7 separate regions of the Homo sapiens genome follow, and all the other regions are linked to region 1. The links are contacts of gene promoters, found by promoter capture Hi-C in blood cells and fetal thymus (Javierre and others, 2016). All regions are on one chromosome and are shown on one strand. The core of a region is centred on a gene start or on the middle of the fragment in contact, and the rest is flanking DNA. Distances in the headings are between cores, read along the strand shown.

Region 1 (2,700 bases), core at 78-2,577:
AGGATCTAACTGGCCAAAAGCAATGGTACAGCTCTGGGCCTTTGTGCATGCTCTTCTCTGTTGTGTGCACTCCTACACATCCCTGAGGCCCCAGCTCAGGACACTCCACTGAGGTCCCCATCATAGCCCCCTGGCAGAATTGACTGCCTCTGTGCTCCCTGCGTAGCGCATTTATATCTATTCTGCACAGATCTTGTTCTTTTACACAGTAGTCCCCCTTATCTATAGTAGATACCTTCCAAGCCCCCCAGTGGATACCTGAAACGGTGGACAAAACTGAACCCTGTATCTACTACGTTTTTTCCTATACATACATACCTATGATATAGTTTAACTTTATCAATTAGGCACAGTAAGAGATGAACAACAATAATAAAATAACAGCAATTATAACAATATGCCAGCATTGCTAAGCTTGCACTTTGGGGCCATTACTAAGTAAAATAAGGGTTACTTCAATACCGCCACGGTCGATCCGATCACCAAGCTAGCTACTAAGTGACTAAGGGCGGCTACTAGAGATAGGAGGCTGACCTTGGACAAAGGGGCATTCCGGTCCCAGGAATCAAGATTTCATCCTGCTACGCAGAATGGCCGGAAACTTAAAACTTAGGACTTCTGTATTTCTGGAATTTTCCATTTAATAGTTATGGACAAGAGCTGACCACAGGTAACTGAAATCGCGGATAAAGGGGGCTACTATCCGCAGTTCTCTAGTACTTGGGAGTTTCTTGCGACACTCATTTCTGCAACCGAGTGTCTCTCAACAAATCAAACTGTTCGGAATGTTTGGAATATTTTAAACGAAAGAATGCATTCAACAGGCAGTGCCCAACTCCCCAAGTTGGGATTCTCTCCTTGGATCAGTCTCTCCTGTTTACCCCCCTCCTCTCACCACCGGCTGCAGGGGGACCTCTCACTCCTTTCCTTCCCAGTCCAAATGCTGGGCGGTGGAGAGCCGCACTCGCGACAGACACCAGAACGCACCTTCGATAGCACATTCCTGCCCCACCTGCCCCTCAGCACCCGCTGCAGCCCCGACGAGGGTGGGGGTGGGAGGCAGCAATCCTTCAGGTCCTCGGCAGCCCTGCGGGCCTACCTTGTCCCCTTTGCTTAGGACCTGCCAAGGCCACGTCTCTACGCTTCCGAACAGCGAGTTCTTGATCATGCCCAACATGTTGTAGCCGAGACGCTCCCGACGCACGGGAGGACGTGAGGTGGCGGGGGCGACGGAGCACCACGGGCAGCGACCACCGGCGGCAGGGCGGCAGGGCGGCAGGGCGGCAGGGCGGCAGGGTGGCAGGGCGGCAAGGCGGCGGGACGGCGAGGCGGCGAGGCGAGAGGCGGGGCTAGAGGCAGGGGCCAGAGGGCGTGGCTAGAGGGCGGGGCGGCAATTCAGCCCGGCGGTGAGGCAAGGGGGCGGGACGGCGAGGTGAAGGGGCGGAGAGAGAGGGCGGGGCGGCGAGGCGAGGGGGCGGAGAGAGGGCGGGTCAGTGATGCGAAGGGCGGGCAGCAGGGCAGCAGTGCAGCAGTGCAGCAGTGCGGTGAGGCGAGGGTGCGAGGCGGCTAAGCAAGGGATGGGCCCGCCGTGGCGAGCCGCTGGGCCGTGTTCCGCCTCCTTTCGGGCTTTCCGCGGGTGTCTGGGGAGGGAACCCGGCCGCGGGCCTCAGGCCGTCCCCCTCCGCAGACCCCTTCTCTTATTCTGAGTCTAACCTATCCGCTGGGGCCCTGGAAAGCGATTCTCGCCTGGAGTGGCTTTAGGCAGCGGTGGTGGGGAACGTCCTCTCTCAGGTGCCTGGGCTCCAACCTCCGAGCCCCGGGTTGCTCACGCTTCTCCGGTCCTCTACCCGAAGGCTCGATCCCGCTGGTACAGCGGCGGCCAGGCTCCCTGTCTTGGTAGCTGTCCCTCTACCCCCGCCCCATGACCTCTTCTAGACCATTGAAAGAGCATCCAAACCACTTTCCTGCTGCCACTCTTTCCTACCATCCCTCTAAATCACAGTTTCCAGGTGACTTTTCTAAGCATGGCTTTTCTCGTTCACTCCTGTTCAAAAATCTTCTCACCAATTTTGTCACCATTTACTCAGCTGAGTGCCTGCTTTCTGTCAAGTATTTTACCAATAAATCTCTACTCCACACCACCGACAAGAAATATTTTGGAGCCATTTAAAAAGGAGGAAACGGAAGCTTCTGCCGCTGCCTGATCCTCCATTGCTCCGAGCCGCGCGGGTGCAGCGGGCTGTGGAGCCGCGGGCCGAGCCCCGCCGGAGCGCCCGAGAGCCCGCGCGTCCCGGGCGTCCGTCGGGGTCCGAGGTCCCTCCCTCAGGGAGTCCCCGCTCGGCAGCGCTCTCGCGTTTCACGCAGCGGCCGGGGATCTGGGACAGGCGGGGCCCCGAGGCCGAGCCTGGCGCTGCCCAGCGGCCGGTGCAGGCCTCAAGCTGGGCCGGGCGGAGGGGAACCGGCGAGTTGAAGCCCCGGGGCCGAAAGCCGGAGCCTGTGGCGGCCGCGGGGGTGGGGAGGGGGGTGGGGCGGCTTCTTGGGCAGCGCCACACGGCGGCGCAGTGATGGATGTTAACAGCAGCGGCCACCCGGACCTCTACGGGCGCCTCTGCTCTTTCCTCCTGCCGGAGGTGGGGGGCAGGCTGCCCGACCTGAGCCCCGACGGTGGCGCCGAACCGGTCGCGGTCTCCGGGACGCCGC
Region 2 (2,700 bases), core at 47-2,546, 1.8 Mb before region 1:
GCGCATGAACTTCCCGTACTTCTACGTCGCGGGCTCGGTGATCCTCAACATCCGATTGCAGGTACATATTTAGAGCCATGACTAAGCTAACGGCCTCCGGGGCCAGCATGATGGCCGACTCCCAGGGTCCGTTGCGGCGCGGCGGAGCAGCCAATGGCGAGCCCCACAGTCTCGCGAGAGTGCTCAGGCGCTCTTCGTGGCTGCCCTCTTAGCTGCTAGCGGAGCTCCTCAGGGGGCGGCCGGGAGCCTACAATCCCTAGAAAGAGAATACGCTGTTCCGGAAACAGAACTGCAGTTAAGACCCTCGAAAACATCTAAGAAAGTGTGCATCCTAAAACACCTGACGAATTTCAGAATGTGACAAAGCGCAGAGGATGCATTATTTCAAAACAAAACAGAAGGCTAAAATTTGCAGGAAAAAGAAAATCAGTAAACCGGGAATCCTCGGACTGGATTGTAAGCAAGATTTCAATGAATAAGAAGCTGAAGGTATTAAGGCTGTGATATAGAAGGTACATATTTCATCCCACAAGAGAAAACAATAATAATCAGAAATTTTCGGTGAAAAAAACGCAAAACTGTACAGGAAAATCATCCTCCAAGTACCAGACATAAAATGCTGCAAGCTTTTGAACTAATGGCGAGAGTGTAAGAAAATGGGCTCTACTTCAGTGATCCTGTGGCAGGACGTGGATCAAGACTTGGAACCGCAGAAAACGAAATCCCATAGTAGCACAAAGCTTGGCTGTTCAGTGAATAACATTTAAATAATCGTAAAATACAAATGTTGTTTATGGTTTTTATTGTTTAAGGGCATACTTAATTATGGTTACAAAGTGGAGTGCAAATGTTATTTACCATGTTTTAAAAATACAGCCGGAAAATACAAGTGGGAATGTTGAAGGAGGGCGGGGGAAGTAAATGGAATGGGGGTTATGTCCTTATAAAGTGGAAACTTGAAAGGTACTGTCTGTTGTTGAGTGGGGAAAGACATTTTTATTACTTACAGGGTAGCCATAAAGTTTCTAAAACGGTAATATATTAAAGAGGGAGAGTGGTAGGGGAGAACAGTATGAAGTCAACAGGAAATGGCTAAAGATGGAGAGCTCAGGTAGAATAGTTTAAAAAATGAAAATTGATAGAGTACCTGGTGTATTTGAATACAGCCTAGAGAGCTTTCATTTTCCAAAGAGTGTGGGGATAAATTAGTGAATGCATATTTTTCAAAATTAAGAAAACAGAACATATAATTTTGAACGCTGAGAAAAATAAAAATTTAAAAACTACACTGTATACACGGTATACCTCAACTGTGAATAATAGTAGTCATGTAAAGTCAGTCATAATTATGTAAATACTGAATACTGATTTTACAACAAATGATTCTATAACGCTGGGAGGATGGGAGAAAAGAGATGTGTGTGTGTGTAATGGTGGTGAGCCAATCAAGATCTGATATAGAAAAATGCAGAAAAAGGAGTATACACATGTTTTCTTCGGATTAAAAAAACTAATAATAAATCACCAAGAGTGGTAAAGTTTTAAATCAAGATCTGATATAGAAAAGTGCAGAAAAAGTAGTATACGCATTTTTTTTTTCAGGAAAAAATTAACTAATAAACCACTAAGAGGGGTAAAGTGTTAAAATAGTTGCATTGTTCTATATTCCACTCATTGTGTCCAGCAAACAGTGTTCTATGGCTTTAAGTAGTAAGCATCTTGCCCCGTCCAACACCATGTCTGGCCTAGGGTAATTGTTCTTTCTAGTCTTTATTCTTTGTCTCCAGCCAAACTCCATTTGGGCACATTCTCCTATAGCCTTTTCTACCTGAAGATACTCTGTGTTTTAAAGCTAAGCTTAGGTGGCGCTTTTTCCATTAAATTTTTCCTGGATTCCACTGACCATATAGGAGCTCACTTCTTTTAATCCATAAGGCCATTTTCATAGGTTGCCTTATTTTTCCCTAATCGTGCATCAACTGTCTGTTTTATATACCCAAGACAGGTTTCCTAGACTGCGATAAGCCAAAACATTTTAGTCTAAAATATCAGAAGTGTAGTTTAATCAATGAAATAGTAATACCAAGGGATTTAGAATCGTGGACATCACTGTTTCCCAGAGCACTGATGTCCCAATTTGTAACACAAAAGACTGTCTAGTCTTAATCCTGAAATGGTGACAGAGTAGGATGCTCCATTTGGGTGACTATGTGAACATATTCCTATAACTTTTTTCCTCACATCAGTCATTTGTTAAACCGAAGATGAAGAAACAGACTTTGTATTTATTACATCCTCCAACATAATTGGCAGCTCTGTGAGGGAAGACACTATATCCTATTCAATTTTACACCCGGTAGTAACAGTATGTGTGTGTACTGTATATATACATATATATATACATACACATATATAAATTTAAGTAGTAACTATATATGTATATATGTATAGTTACTACTTACTATATATGTATACAGTATATAAGTATATATGTATAGTTACTACTTACAATATATGCATAAAGTTACAGCTTACATTTACCTCGTAATATATGTATATATATATATTAGGAGTTAAATGTATTAGGAGGTAAATGTAAACTCTGTGGTTTATCATTTATTCACAATTGCTCTTAATTCTTGGGGTATAGTTTGCCTCCTACATGATGCAATTCAGTGAAATTCCCAGGAGACAAAACAA
Region 3 (2,700 bases), core at 88-2,587, 1.5 Mb after region 1:
GGCTAATTTTTGTATTTGTAGTAGAGACGGGCTTTCGTCATTTGGCCAGGGTGGTCTTGAACTCCTGACCTCAAGTGAGCCACCGCACCTGGCCTTAGGCTTTTTTTGTTAGGAGATTTCTATTACTGATTAAGTCTCCTTAATAATTATAGATTTATTTATTTATTTACTTTTAATAATTCAGTCTTGGTGGGTTGTGTGTTTTTAGGAATTTATTTCTTCTAGGTAATCAAGTTTGCAGGTGTGTAATTGTTCATTGTAGTCTCTTGTAATCCTTCCCATTTATGTAGCATCAGTTCTAATGTCTTCTCTTTCTTTCATTTCTTTTCATCTTTAAAGTCATCTGTTTTGTTAGTTAGCCTAGTTAAGGATTTATCAATTTTGCTGATTTTTTTTAAACCAACTTTTAAGTTTTGTTTTTGTTTTTCTATTCTCTATTTTTGTTTACTTCCACCCTAATTTTCATTATTTCTTTCCTCTTGCTAATTTTGGGTTTAGTTTTTCCCCTCTAGTTCTTTGAGTTGTAAAGCTAGATTGTTGATTTGAGATCTTTGTGTTTGTGTTTTACCACTATAAACTTCCTTCTTACCACTGTTTTCACTGCATACAATTTATTATATTTTGTTTTCATTTTCATTTGTCTGAAGATATCTTGTAATTTACCTTCTTCTTTGACTTGTTGGTTTTTTTTTTTAAACAGCATGTTTAATTTTCACATATTTGTGACTTTTCCTACTTTTCTTCTGCTGTTGACGTCAAGTTTCATTCCATTATTGTCAGAAAAGATACTTGGTATGATTTCATTCTTTCTAAATTTGTTAAGACCTGGGTTGTGACATGCGACCTATCCATGAGAATTTTCTATGTGCTCTTGAGAAGAATGTGTATTCTGCTGTTGTTTGATCCAAGCTTATCCTATGTGTCTGTTAGGTCCAATTAGCATATAGTGTTGTTAAAGTTCTCTGTTTCTGTGTTGATATTCTGTCTGATGGTTCTATCCATTATTGAAAGTGGGGTATTGAAGTTTCCTACTATCATTGTGTTACTGTCTGTTTCTCCCTTCCATTCTTTCAATGTTTGTTTCATATATTTGGAGCTCTGATGTAGGGGTGTGTGTGTGTGTGTTACAGCTGGTGAAAGTACCCTTTTATCATTATGTCCTTCATTGTCTGTTTTGACAGTTTTTGACCTAAAGTCTATTTTGTCATACATAAGTATGGCCCATCCTTACTCTCTTCTTGTTACCATTTGCATGGTAATATTTTTCCATCCTTTCACTTTCATTCTGTGTTGTATTTTGGATCCAAAGTGAGCCTCTTGTAGGCACCATATAGTTGGATCTTATTTTAAAAAACATTAAGTCAACCTGTCGTTTGATTGGAGAATTTTATCCATTTGCATTTAAATAAACTGCTCATTGGAAGGGACTTATTGTTGTCATTTTGTTTTTTTCTCTATGACTTGTAGCTTTTTTTTGTTTCTTGATTCCTTTGTGTTTCATTGCTTTTTGTTTTTCTTTTGGTATAGTAGTGTGCTTTCATTCCTTTTACAGTTCGTTTTGTGTATTTTCTTTAGATGTTTCCTCTGTGGTTACCGTGGGGATTACATAAAACATCCTAAAGTTACAACTGTCTATGTTAAACTGCAAATAACTTTAATCATATAAGAGCGCTAGTCTATATCTGCCTCACTATGACTTGATGTTACTGTTGTCGTATATCACATCTTTTTATGTTGTGTATCTGTTAACATATTTTTAGTTTTTTTAAGCTTTTAAGTTCTATACCAGAATTAAAAGTGGTTTATGCACCAATATAACAAGAATACAGGATTCTGTATTTTTCTCCTTATCAACATTTTCTTAGAGAAGTTTATATTTTTGTATGCTTCCATGATGCATACACTCTTTAGTTTCCACGTGAAGGGCTTTCTTCAGCACTTCTTTTAGGACAGGTATAGTGATGAAACTCCTTCAGCTTTTACTAATCTGGGAAAAATTTTAATTTCACCTTCATTTTTGAAGCATATTATTGCCAGGTATAGTATTCTTGATTGGCAGGTCTTTGATTCAGCCCTTTGATAATATATTATCTCACTCCTTCAGGCCTACAAGATTTCTGCTGAGATATCTGCGTGTTATCTTATGGGAGTTCCCTTGTGTGTTGTTATGAGTTGCTTTTCTCTTACTGCTTTCAAGATTATTTACTGTGATTCAGACAGCTTGGTTATAATGTATCTCAGTGTAGATGTTTTTGGGTTAACAATAGTTGGAGGTCTTTGAGCTTCTTGAATTTGCATCTCCATTTTCTTCTTCCAGTTTCAGACATTTTCAGCAATTATTTATCTTTCTCTCTGTCTTCCTTTACTTCCCTTATGTGTATATTGGTCTGCCTGTTGGTGTCCCAAAAGTCCTTTAGACTTTCTTAGCTTTTTTTCATTCTCTTTTTGCTCCTCTGGCTTGATAATTTCAAATGACCTGTCTTCAAACTTGTGGACTTATTTTTCGGTTTGATCCGGTCTGCTCTTGATTCTCTACAGTGAATTTTCATTTCAGTGTATTCTTCAGCTTTTTAATTTGTATTATGATACGTTTTTACAGTTTCTCTTTGTTGATATTTTCATTTTGTTCATGCACCCTTTTCCTGATTTTGCTGTTTTCTGTCGTCTCTTTCACTTTCACCTAATTGAGTATCTTTTTTT
Region 4 (2,700 bases), core at 118-2,617, 2.0 Mb after region 1:
TATGAAGGGATCTGGTAAAACTACTCCATCCAACAGAGGTGATGTGTATTGATTGTTGCTTGCCCAGCCTACACCAATCCCCTGAGAGTCAGTAGGAGTCAGAGTAGCAGAGACAGGAAGAGCAGCCACTTCAAACAGGGAACAGTGGGTGAATCCTTGATCCAAGATGATGACCAGACCCTTAGAACCTCATAGTGCCTTGAACGATGTTTCGTTCTCCACCAAGCCTTGCTGAAGGTGGTTGAGTTTCTTATCTTCCATTTTTCTTTTCAGATAGACTAAAATTCTTTCTTTTATCATTTATTTTTTGTTTCAAAAAGTTTCCTTAGCCATCTTTTTAGAGTAGGTCTTCTGATTATAGATTCTCTTAGTCTTCCTTTGTTTGAGGATGTCATTATTTCCCCTTATTCCGAAGAAGGATAAATTCACATGACATAGAAGTGAGGGTTGACAGTTCTTTTTCTCAGGACATGAAAAATGTGCCATATCCTTCTAGTCCCCCTGGTTTCTAATGGGAAATCTGCTGTCAGTTGAGTTATTTTTCTTACAGATAAGGTGTTGCTTCTCTTTCACTGCTTTCTACTTTTTTTCTTTGTCTTTAGTTTTCTGAAGTTTAGCCATGGTGTATTTTGGTGTAGATTTCTTTGAGTTTATCCCACTGGGTTTTCCCACCTTCTTGATGTTACACAATTACGTCCTGCACTACATTTGGAACATTTTTAGCCATTATTTCTTCAAGTACTTTTTAAGCTTCATCTCTTTTCTCCTTTCCTTCTGAGATGCTGATGACATAAATATTAGGTCCTTTAGTCTCACAGATCTGTAAGGTTCTATTCATTTTTTTTGTGGGGGGGTGGGTTTATTTTCTGTCTTTTGTTCAGATTGGGTAATTTCTATTTTTCTGTCTTCAAGTTCACTGATTCTTTCTTCTTTATTCTCCATTCTGTTTTTGAGCCTATCCATTAAGTTTTTTATGTTGGTTATTCTATTTTTCAGTTCTAAAATCTTTATTTCATGCTTTTTTACATGCTGTGTTATTTCTGAATGGAGATGAAATTTCCCACTTGGGCTTCTTTGATACCGCTCTGGTAGGGAGAAGAAGGTGGCCTCGTTATGACTGGTTGGAGGTGAAAGTCCAAGATCCCAATGTGGCTTTCTCTGATGCTACTCAGCTAGGGTGGGAGAAAGAAGGTCACCCCGTTGTAGCTGAATCAAGATGAAAGTCTTGGCTCTCCACTCAGACTTTGCTGAGTCATGTCATGTTTTTTTTCCATGGTATTTGACTGGAGTAGGGCGGTTTTTGTTTAAATGTTTTTGTTCTTGCTAGTTTGCTACTCTCTTGGTCACTTGTCTAGAAAAAACAGGCTTTTGGGGAGGTTTTTTGTTTTTTCACTCCTCTTGGTGTTTTTGGGTTACTGTCTTTTCCTGCATCAACATCCGGATATACAAAAAGAAAATTCAGGAAACTTCCTGCCATATTGTTCCTCGCATCTAAAGCCTGTCTTTGGTTTTTCTTCTCTCAAATATTTTGAAATATTCCATATTTCTGTCATATATAGTATCCAGGATTTTTAGCTGTACTTAGCAAGAGGCATGAGAGGAAATGTGTCTACTTTACTTGGTCCAAAACAAGAAGGAACATAGATTTTTAAGACTGTAGAGTAATTTAAGAATTTTCTAATTCTAAACCCCTGAGAACCATATTAGAGTGGCTTTAGGAGAATTTTTCAAACTATACACCTAGACTTTCTCCACACTCCTAATCTCTCCCTCTTCTCTCTCCTGGATTTCCTTTGGAGGAAGAAGACTTATGGCACAACCACCCCCATATTCAAAAATTGAGAATCTGAGAATTGCAAGATTATCTTTCTCAAGTGTACTGGGATGGAAAAAAATTGAGAACCCCAACACTCTAAATCATTCATTTTACATATGAGGAAACTGAGACTCAGAGAGGTGACATATAGCAGATAAGTGGTAAACCCAAGCTTGCATATGGGTCTAGAACAGTACTTTTCAAACATTAATATGCAAACACATCACCTTGGACCTTGTTAAAAAGCAGATTCTGATTCGGTAAGTATGGAGCAGGGCTGAAATCCTGCATTTTTAACAAGTGCACAGATGGTGTTGCTGCTGCTGCACTTTGAGTAACAACATTCTAGAACATTCACTCAGCTTTTGGCACTTTCCACTGTCCTTAAAATTTGTATTCTTTCATCAAGAAAATGGAGAATATGTAAAAGTTTGACAGATAAGCATCTGAACATTAACGTGCCTGGTATGTAATAGTAAAGGAAGATGTGAATGGTAATGGAGATACAGAGGAGGGAGCAGAGGGACTCATCCAGAGACCAAACACTTTCCTGGCTTTGCAAGGTAATCATTGCTTTCAAAACTCAGAGGAATTTTGGTAAAGACCAGTGGAGAGCATATGAATGACTCTCAAGCTGTCTAGTTGCTCATGTAATCTGCTTAGGGCTGCAGGTTAAGAACCTCTCCCTGTCTAGAAAGGATAAATTGACCTTCTTTCTCTGTAATGTTATGGAGTGTAATTTTCTAATAGGTAACAACTGGGGAAAGAACATTGAAATTCACTGGCAAGGCATGGAAGTGACCAGCAAACAGACATCTTGGTCTCTGTCTGCTTTGATGTAGTGCAGCACAAAGACAATTGAATATGCAAGGTACTTCCAGATT
Region 5 (2,741 bases), core at 35-2,534, 1.8 Mb after region 1:
AAGTCACCGCGTCACGGATCACGTTCTCCAGGAAGACTTTGAGGACTCCCCGGGTCTCCTCGTAGATGAGACCAGAAATGCGCTTGACGCCCCCACGTCGGGCGAGACGGCGAATCGCCGGCTTTGTAATGCCTTGGATATTGTCCCGCAGCACCTTCCGGTGGCGCTTGGCGCCTCCCTTACCCAGCCCCTTGCCACCTTTACCTCGCCCAGACATTCTGAAATCACAGCGCCTACTCAGCAGAAAATCGGGCTGCCCACTGTGATTGCCAGTCGCAGACCAGGGCTTATAGTCTCTCGATGCGGACCTGTTTGAAAACATCAAAAAAGTGGGCGGAGCTCTAGGCCCCACCTCTGGAGACATGCTATAGTTGTTAAGTCCAGGAAGCAGTCAGCGAAACCAGCCTGATTTTTTTGTTGTTTGCTCTTTTGGGAAAATTTTTTCTGATGTTTGGAGAAAGGTTCATGGTGATACGTTTTAAAGTTAAAACAGTATGAGCTAAAAGAATTTATATTGCCTTTTCTCAGCGCTTAAATAAAAGTAGGCCAGATCCTATGCACGTTCCTTGTTCTGTCCCTCCCTCCTTCTGTTTTTTCAAACGGAATTCCTGACTTACTATGAAACTCTATAAAAACCTGAAAAGCTTTACATCCGAGATTTCAAAGCAATTACTTAAAATTTAAAATTTTTCACACGTGGGTCTTCTGAAGACATAGTAGGGGGAGAGGACTTTTTTCTCTTTTACGGCCCTGCAGATAATTAAAATTCTTTCAATTGAAAAAAGAAAGTGCAGCTTCCCGTCCCCCACCTACACTCCACCCCCACCTCCCCCCGACCCCCGCCATTCCCCTTTCAGCTGCTTCTGCGCAATTTGCAGGTTTTCCTGCCCTGCAAGAGCCTGTGTGCTTTTCAACCAAGTAACTTCCTGTGGTTATTTAGTTGAAATATTGTCAATGTCTTATGTCATTCAAATCTCAGGTTCTCATCTCACATTTTCCACTTAAAAATTCAAAGTTCTTGTAAAACAATGGATGCCACAATCATGACTTGGAATAATGATTTCTACTGCAAATCCCCTCAGGAGGTTCTGAATCCCTTCCTTTCTCAAGAGAATCCCTGAACAAAAACGAAAGTTTCTGTAAGGTGTCACCGCTCTTCAAAGGTGTCAGGACCCTGTCTTCTCTAAAGGTTTTACTGTGTTAAAAAGCAGCTGTTATTTAGAGGATGAGTCATAAGTCTTTCCCAGGTAGTTAATTAGGATTCTGAGCAATGAATTTTAGTAAGTGGGGCTTCTTTGTCCCTGGTCTTGAAGATAAGCCTTTACAGCAGGAAGACTTTATGGTAAAATTTTGTTATATTTATAAATGCCTATAGTTTACATTTGTTTCAATCCATGCCCATCTTCATAACCCAAAAGGTATTTATTTTTCTTTTACTTTTTGTTAAAGATAAAAGAGTTGGAACACTGTCTTGAATGGCTGGAAAAAGTCCTGAATGGTCGAACTTCACTCATGATTTTAATATTTGACTCAGAGGGAAGAGGAAAAGTCTATCAGATCTTGAAGAGATAAGAATTATTGTAATGGGGCCGGGCGCGGTGGCTCACGCCTGTAATCCCAGCGCTCTGGGAGGCCGAGGAGGGCGGATTACGAGGTCAGGAGATCGAGACCATCCTGACTAACATGGTGAAACCCCATCTCTACTAAAAATACATAAAAATTAGCCGGGCGTGGTGGCGGGCGCCTGTAGTCCCAGCTACTCGGGAGGCTGAGGCAGGAGAATGGCGTGAACCCGGGAGACGGAGCTTGCAGTGAGCCGAGATCGCGCCACTGCACTCCAGCCTGGGCGACAGAGCGAGACTCCGTCTCAAAAAAAAAAAAAAAAAATTATTGTAATGGTAAAATCGGTTGACTTACTTATAGTTAAGCTTTCTAAGAAATCAAGACTAGAACATTTTCAAATTAGAAATCTCTTGCTTATTGGAATAAAAGAAAAAAAATCGTGTCTAAAATAGTAATACTTTTAAAAACTCTTGAAAATTCCCCAAGATACAGGCAAAAATTTAAGCTAGTTTACAGAACTCATTCCAGGAACATCTCGTTAAAAACTGCATCAGAGATTTGTATGCCCATTTATTTGGTATATCTAAGAGTTATTGGATGCTTACTAACGTATTTAATTTTCAAAACACTTTGATACAGGTAGAGGAGTCAAATAACTTATCAAAGGTCACTGCTCAGTGGTAAAGCCAGGATTTAGGCTGAGGCAGACTGGCTCCGGAAAGACCGCCTAAACCATGACAATAGCTCTGAAGACATTTATTGAGTCCCCAGTATGGGTTCATCATTGTTCTAGGCAGTAATGACATATACATAAATATTTGAAAATGTTATTTCAATGAAGTCAAATCTTTATTCGGATAGTGAGAAGGTAAATTTGCTTTACTTTAAATGTAAATGAATCCACATAAAATGTTTATTTTAAAAAGCAAGCGTTCAACATTACATCACGTATCGGTGTTAACTGTGTTACTGAAAATGTTCAGGTAAAAATGAAATGACCTCGATGAATTAGGAGAAAGTAATTTTTAATTAAAACAAAACACTTGAAACACTCTTTTTGTTTCAAAAAGCATGGGTCCACAATTCAGGTATATAAGAATAAGCTGCCATTCTGACTTTAGTCTCTGGACTCATTTACAAAGAGACCCGGGGGACCTCCACGTCTTCGCAGAGGACCC
Region 6 (2,700 bases), core at 136-2,635, 1.5 Mb before region 1:
CCATAGGGCTTACAGTAGGCTGTCTTCAAACAAGCAAGGAAGTAATAGGCTTTCTACCGCAACTCAGATCTAGGTTTCAGGACTCATTCTAGGGACAGCTGCAACTGCCAAGTAGACTATGAGGAAACTTTCTCAGTGTTCTAGAAAAAAAAAAATGGAGGAGAAGGTGGGGAGGGGGAAGGAGAAAGAGAGTTAAAACAAAACAAAGAGAAAGACGGAGAAAATTAATGATTATATCAGGCCTCTCCCAACTCCCTCCTCTTTCCCTGGAGCACAGGACTAAATGTTAAGAAGAGAAGGATGAGATTTCTACCATAACTGAGGAAAACTACAAAACATGAGAGTCTGAAGAGACAATAAGGAAGATAGAGGCCAATCCTGTAATTTTTCAGATGAAGAAAGTAAGGCCCAGGGAGAAGAAATTACTGTATTCAGATCACACAGTTATAAGGATTCGAGCCAATACTGGATCTTAACCCAGTGTTTACTATTCTGTGCAGTGTTCCATTATTCGTGGATTGCTAACAATGAAAGAAAGCATAGAAATGATATAGTTCAACCTCCTTATTTTAAAATAAGAAAAGATATATTGAGAGAGGTCAAATAATTTGCTCAAAGTCACAGTTGGCTTTTTGCTACCAATCCAAGCTTCTTTTCCCTAGTCTTTGCATATACACACAACAATGTTTTGAATAATTTCAAAATTATTTCAAAAATTAACCCAGAGTAAATGTACTTATTCAGGAAAGTAGTGGAAATAGGAAATATAGCAAACATAAAAACACCTCACCCCTATGACTCAATTTATACTGGTCCATGAACAGTTAACAGTTTTCAACACTTAACACTTCTCTTCCCGTGCTAGCTGGCAGCCAGAGTTATTCTGCAAAACTGTGTTTCCAAGTCCTCAAGAGGAATACATGTGTAAGTGTGCTTTAAATTTGCAAATGTTTTATCTTTGAGATCCTTAAACAGTAACACTATTAATCTTCATCTTCAAGCTGCTAAGTTTGTTATGATATGTTTATACGTGTGTGTGTGTGTGTGTGTGTGTGTGTCTACGCAGAACTTTTTTTGGCTGGTCATGTGACTCCTAGAACTGTATCCTTCCATCCACTATGCATTTCCCTATGTAAATAATATTAGCTTTCACTGGTGATGGCAACAAGACAGAAGGAATGAGGTCAAGGAGGAAATAAATTTGGATAGAAAGAAGCCGTCAAAACCCTGTGAATAAAATTCACAAGCGAGTTTCGGTGACTCATAAGAGCACAGAGAGGAGACACAGGGATTATTCAGGAGCAGGTTCCTGTAGGGTAGCAGGAGCTGCACAGCAGGAGTGTGGAGGGGCACAGGTCAGCACCAGGATGCACCAAGGGCACCTGGGAAGTGCTGAGGGCCAGGCCACACTTAACTCGGGTCTGTGCCCTGCAGTGGGAAGAAGCCTCAGAGTATTTTCATCCTGCGAATCTCCTCTGTGCAAGAAAAGACCAGTTGATGTCCTTGAAAACTTTCCTATTTGACCAGTTCATTCTTATTTCAAAATTTTATATTATTATATTTTTTAGAGACAGGGTCTCGCTATGTTGCCCAGGCTGGACTCGAACTCCTGAGCTCAGTGAGACTCCCACCTCAGCCTCCTGAGTTGCTACCATGCCCAGCTTGCCCAGTTCATTTTTAATGAGGCCAAACACATTGGTCATGCAGCTCACAAACAAAAGGGAATGTCTGTAGTTCTGGTCAGTCACAAACTCATTGTACTTTACAGAGAAAACTCCATGCAGAATGTTGAAATATCATCCTCTAAAGGTTGACTCTAAGTATACAGAAGCAGTGTAGGGGCACAGACAGCTCAGTTGAGCACTCAGCACATCAAACAAGAAAGCATGTGGTGGTTTCCCTCTACCCAGAGCAGGGTCTGATACGGAGGAGCAAGCCTGGACTTTGTCCTTGGGCAAATTGCCCCATTAGGGGAGGAAGGAGCCCACTCTCCAGACTTTCTGGTTTGAAGCAGTACCTGGGTCTGAGCAGAGTGAGGAACACTTCCTGCTACAGCCAAACTAGACTAGCCTGGGCCCTGAGATCCATGACCTCACATGTGCCTTTTTCTCCAGGCACACTGGAAAGCTTAGTCCCCCCGCCCCCGTGACTGTCTGTTCCCGAGATAGTCCCTTTGCATGGAGAATCCGTGCCCATCCCACCCACCCCCACACCATAAAAAGTCAATGTTAGAAGGTTTGAATGGATTTAGTGATCATGCACTCCAACCCTGCCTATCTGTTCATCAAAGTCCACTTCAAATACCACTTTATAAAGACATTGTGGTTCTTCTGTCTCCCAATTCATTATTACTTTGGTGCTCTGTTATGGTATACATCACATTCAGTCTTGTATTAGAGTTGTTTGTGTACATATTTTCTGCCCTCACTCCAAGGCCAGCTTAAAACTTATAAATCTTAAAATATTTTGGCCTCCTAAAAATTAAACAGTATCATTCATAGTTTCCACTATTAAATATTTTATGCTTTTGGAATAAAATATGTCATTCTTCACCCCCTCTCCCAAAAACCCCAAAACTTTGTTCCTCTGCTTTTCTAGTTTCCCGTGTGCTGCTTAGTGGGTTTTCCAGCAGCCCTGGTCCCAAGCACATGAGGGACTGTTAGCATTTTCAAGACAAAAGTATCCTTAACTCCTCTTCAT
Region 7 (2,700 bases), core at 44-2,543, 1.4 Mb after region 1:
GGTTATTTTTTACAATTTAGTTTGGGGATATTGCATTCCACATTTTGGTCGGTGACAGGCAGAGGGGTTAATTTGTGAAAGTGTCAAATATTATGATCACTTGATAACTTACTCAACTGAGTTTATGAGTATTTGATAAACAGATTTCACCACTTACTGTTTTTTTTTTTTTTTAAGATGGCAGGATAGCTAGTGACAGTTATTTTATACCAGTTAAGAGAACCGTAGCTGACAATGCAACAGTGTAACATCTGTTTACATAGCCTTTATGTTATACTGGGTATTATAGGTAATTTAAAGATAATTTAAAGTATACAGCAATATGTGCATAGGTTATATGCAAATACTACACTACTTTATATAAGGGACTTGAACATTGTCAGATTTTGTTATCTGTAGGGAGTCCTGGGACCAGTCTCCCACAAATACTGATGGACATGGTATTTAAAATAAAAATTTCAAAATCTTTATACTAAATTTGAGCAGATAAGTATCAAAGTGAGTGAACAGATTCAGTAGTCTATTTAATGGGCAGTAAGCAGTAAAGCAGATTATTAGCATCTTTTGTGCAACCCACTATTCTTTATGATTTTATTTTTAGAGTATTGCAAATTCTCAAGCAAAATTTAGAAGTGTAAAATAAAATCATACAGTTTTCAACTGAGAATGGGATTCTTAAAGAATCTAATAGCAGAGTTGCATTTCTAAAGAGGTTAGAAATTATCAGCATAAAGTGATTATTTAATATTTAATTCAGCCATTTAATGAAAATAAACTCAAATTAAAATTATTTTCAGTAGAAAAATGAATGAAATTTTTATTCAGAAAAATGTTGTACTCTCAGGCAACAGCATGAATATAATTGGAATGCCTTTGTCAAAGATAGAAATGCCATGTCCACTTAAAAGGTTTTGCTTGATGTTTTCTAAGCTTTTGCTTTAGTTTTATTTTGAAGTATACTTCATCAGATATTCATTACTTTGAATTAATACAGCATTTGTTTTGTCTATGTGTTGTATATGCTTTTTGACCCAACAATCGTGGTACTTAGTTAAGTCTGTTCTTGGAAAGCAGTACAGACCCTAGTTTATTTAATCAAAGAAACCCTACCATGACCTGTTTTTCAAACAGAGCATCTAGAGTTATATTCCTAATGTTTCCATTTCATTGTTCACCTTGATTTTCACATCCTTTGCATTTTTAATAGAGCTCTTGCCCTCATCTTCTTCCCTTGTTGCTGGGCAAGGTTTGTGACACTGATGTCTGATTGGTTTTAGACTATTTCGGCTTTGAGCCAATCAGACAGTGAATTTCAGTTCTCTCACAGGACTGAAACATTGAAGCAGCTGTTGATATATTTTTCCTGTGGGGAGATTATATAAACTAAGAGTATGGCTGCAGCAAGCTCCCTCTTGGGTATGTTTGAAAAATTACAAGGTTCATCTGTAAGGAAGGGGGGAAATGAGGTTTATTTTTAAAACTTGGTTATTAAGAACACCTAATAAGTAGTGAATTTGAGAAAAAAATTCTGATAACAAATTTTCCATTTTTATTTTATAATCCTATATTTAAAGAACTATAGAATGGTGTAATATAATAAAAATGTCTTTAATTTTCATGAATATTTACTTTGTAATCCACACATTTGTTTTATAATAAAGCTTTGAAAGGATATCTCATATAACCTTTTGTAACTTGCTGCGAAAGGCAGTTAAGGAGAAAAGGATGTAGTAATTGTACTTATACCACTTAATATAGGTTGTCCAGAATCAGACATTTAGATTTCATTAGATGAATTAAACTAAGTCAGTTCAGTGCAGTAGACAGCACAACACTTCATAATACTATCCCTAGTAATCCTTTGGGTCCAGAATACTATTAATTTTTGGAATCGGAAATCTGTAACAATAGTGGTAGATGGGTATGAAGATTTTTTTTTTACTTGTCTGGATTTAAGGTTTTGCTAGATTTATATATTTTATATGTATGGTCTATGGAATTTTTAAAAAGAAATTTACATTTGAATTTTGCATTGTATAGAAAAATATGTTCTTACGTATATTGTCCATGTTTGACTTATTCCTCAGGTAGGAAATTAATTTATATTAATGTATATTTCTTGAAATGTTCATGGATATTTATTAAAGCAAATAGCATAAAAGATGTAAATCTTATCCATTTATGTGTGTGGTATATTTAATGCGTGTTACGTGGATTTAGGGTTTTATGTAAACTGTGTTCTAGATTACTTATTTCAAACAAAGAACCACACTTAAGTATTGCAGATACAGTTTTTGTTTAACTATGTTTTTCTGACCTTATTGTCTGTCTCCTGTTGCTGGGCAGGAATCAGAATGCTGGCTGCTGATTGGCTGAGTTTGTGAGCAGCTCTTGAACAGCCATTTAAATTCTTGAGCTTTTTGAGCAGGCAGATTGTAGGCTAAGACATAACAGCTTCCCTTTGTTGTTTCATTGCTATGATCTCTTGCTAGAAAGAAGTGGGTGGAGGGGGATGAAGCAGAGAAGAGAGTAATGTTTTCATTTAAAGAAGAAGCTCGTTGGGCTTTCCTTAAAAATATTTTAAAAATAATTTACCAAAAATTTGAAAAAAAAATTTCCAAGCCAGAGAGACTTATTTGCAGGTAACATACCCTTCTCTGGTTATTTAAATATAAATTTCTATAGAAAAAGGTTTTATTA

What was found. Contacts are between HindIII fragments. The CHiCAGO score rates a contact against its expected background, and 5 or more counts as called.
Region 2: a contact is called between a fragment that was not itself captured here and the fragment with the promoter of HEBP1 in region 1, in 3 of 17 cell types (activated CD4 T cells, non-activated CD4 T cells and fetal thymus). The highest score is 7.7, in activated CD4 T cells.
Region 3: a contact is called between a fragment that was not itself captured here and the fragment with the promoter of HEBP1 in region 1, in 1 of 17 cell types (M2 macrophages). The highest score is 5.2, in M2 macrophages.
Region 4: a fragment that was not itself captured here is called in contact with the fragment with the promoter of HEBP1 in region 1 in 1 of 17 cell types (M0 macrophages); the score reaches 5.9 in M0 macrophages.
Region 5: a fragment that was not itself captured here is called in contact with the fragment with the promoter of HEBP1 in region 1 in 1 of 17 cell types (erythroblasts); the score reaches 5.0 in erythroblasts.
Region 6: a fragment that was not itself captured here is called in contact with the fragment with the promoter of HEBP1 in region 1 in 4 of 17 cell types (non-activated CD4 T cells, total CD4 T cells, activated CD4 T cells and 1 more); the score reaches 8.7 in non-activated CD4 T cells.
Region 7: a fragment that was not itself captured here is called in contact with the fragment with the promoter of HEBP1 in region 1 in 4 of 17 cell types (erythroblasts, M0 macrophages, total CD8 T cells and 1 more); the score reaches 6.3 in erythroblasts.

Annotation. Positions count from the first base shown.
Region 1 is chr12:12,998,938-13,001,637 of GRCh38, forward strand. It overlaps HEBP1 (heme binding protein 1), which reads right to left and starts at 1,328. Exons shown (of 4, transcript NM_015987.5): 1 at 1,100-1,328. The coding sequence starts at 1,177. All of the region lies in intron 2 of GPRC5D-AS1 (GPRC5D and HEBP1 antisense RNA 1), which reads left to right. It also overlaps the pseudogene HTR7P1. RefSeq lists silencers at 1,193-1,342, 1,393-1,512, 2,273-2,422. The HindIII fragment of the contact is 1,773 bases long and covers 413-2,185 here.
Region 2 is chr12:11,171,491-11,174,190 of GRCh38, forward strand. PRH1-TAS2R14 (PRH1-TAS2R14 readthrough) reads right to left here and starts at 121. Exons shown (of 5, transcript NM_001316893.2): 1 at 1-121. It overlaps SMIM10L1 (small integral membrane protein 10 like 1), which reads left to right. Exons shown (of 1, transcript NM_001271592.2): 1 at 1-2,700. The coding sequence ends at 73. It overlaps PRH1-PRR4 (PRH1-PRR4 readthrough), which reads right to left and starts at 135. Exons shown (of 10, transcript NR_037918.2): 1 at 1-135. It also overlaps a transcript of PRH1 not described here. The HindIII fragment of the contact is 1,117 bases long and covers 739-1,855 here.
Region 3 is chr12:14,450,937-14,453,636 of GRCh38, forward strand. All of the region lies in intron 6 of ATF7IP (activating transcription factor 7 interacting protein), which reads left to right. Among named protein-coding and RNA genes, the nearest start is that of PLBD1-AS2, 78 kb to the right of the region's middle. The HindIII fragment of the contact is 861 bases long and covers 908-1,768 here.
Region 4 is chr12:14,969,452-14,972,151 of GRCh38, forward strand. No RefSeq gene overlaps it. Among named protein-coding and RNA genes, the nearest start is that of PDE6H, 2.2 kb to the right of the region's middle. The HindIII fragment of the contact is 1,238 bases long and covers 749-1,986 here.
Region 5 is chr12:14,770,868-14,773,608 of GRCh38, forward strand. It overlaps H4C16 (H4 histone 16), which reads right to left and starts at 264. Exons shown (of 1, transcript NM_175054.2): 1 at 1-264. The coding sequence starts at 217. RefSeq lists enhancers at 1-82, 1-76. The HindIII fragment of the contact is 1,284 bases long and covers 643-1,926 here.
Region 6 is chr12:11,542,713-11,545,412 of GRCh38, forward strand. The region is part of intron 2 of LOC124902877 (a long non-coding RNA gene); the gene reads right to left. Among named protein-coding and RNA genes, the nearest start is that of LINC01252, 4.0 kb to the right of the region's middle. RefSeq lists an enhancer at 1,794-1,853. The HindIII fragment of the contact is 1,479 bases long and covers 647-2,125 here.
Region 7 is chr12:14,415,533-14,418,232 of GRCh38, forward strand. All of the region lies in intron 1 of ATF7IP (activating transcription factor 7 interacting protein), which reads left to right. Among named protein-coding and RNA genes, the nearest start is that of ATF7IP, 51 kb to the left of the region's middle. The HindIII fragment of the contact is 731 bases long and covers 929-1,659 here.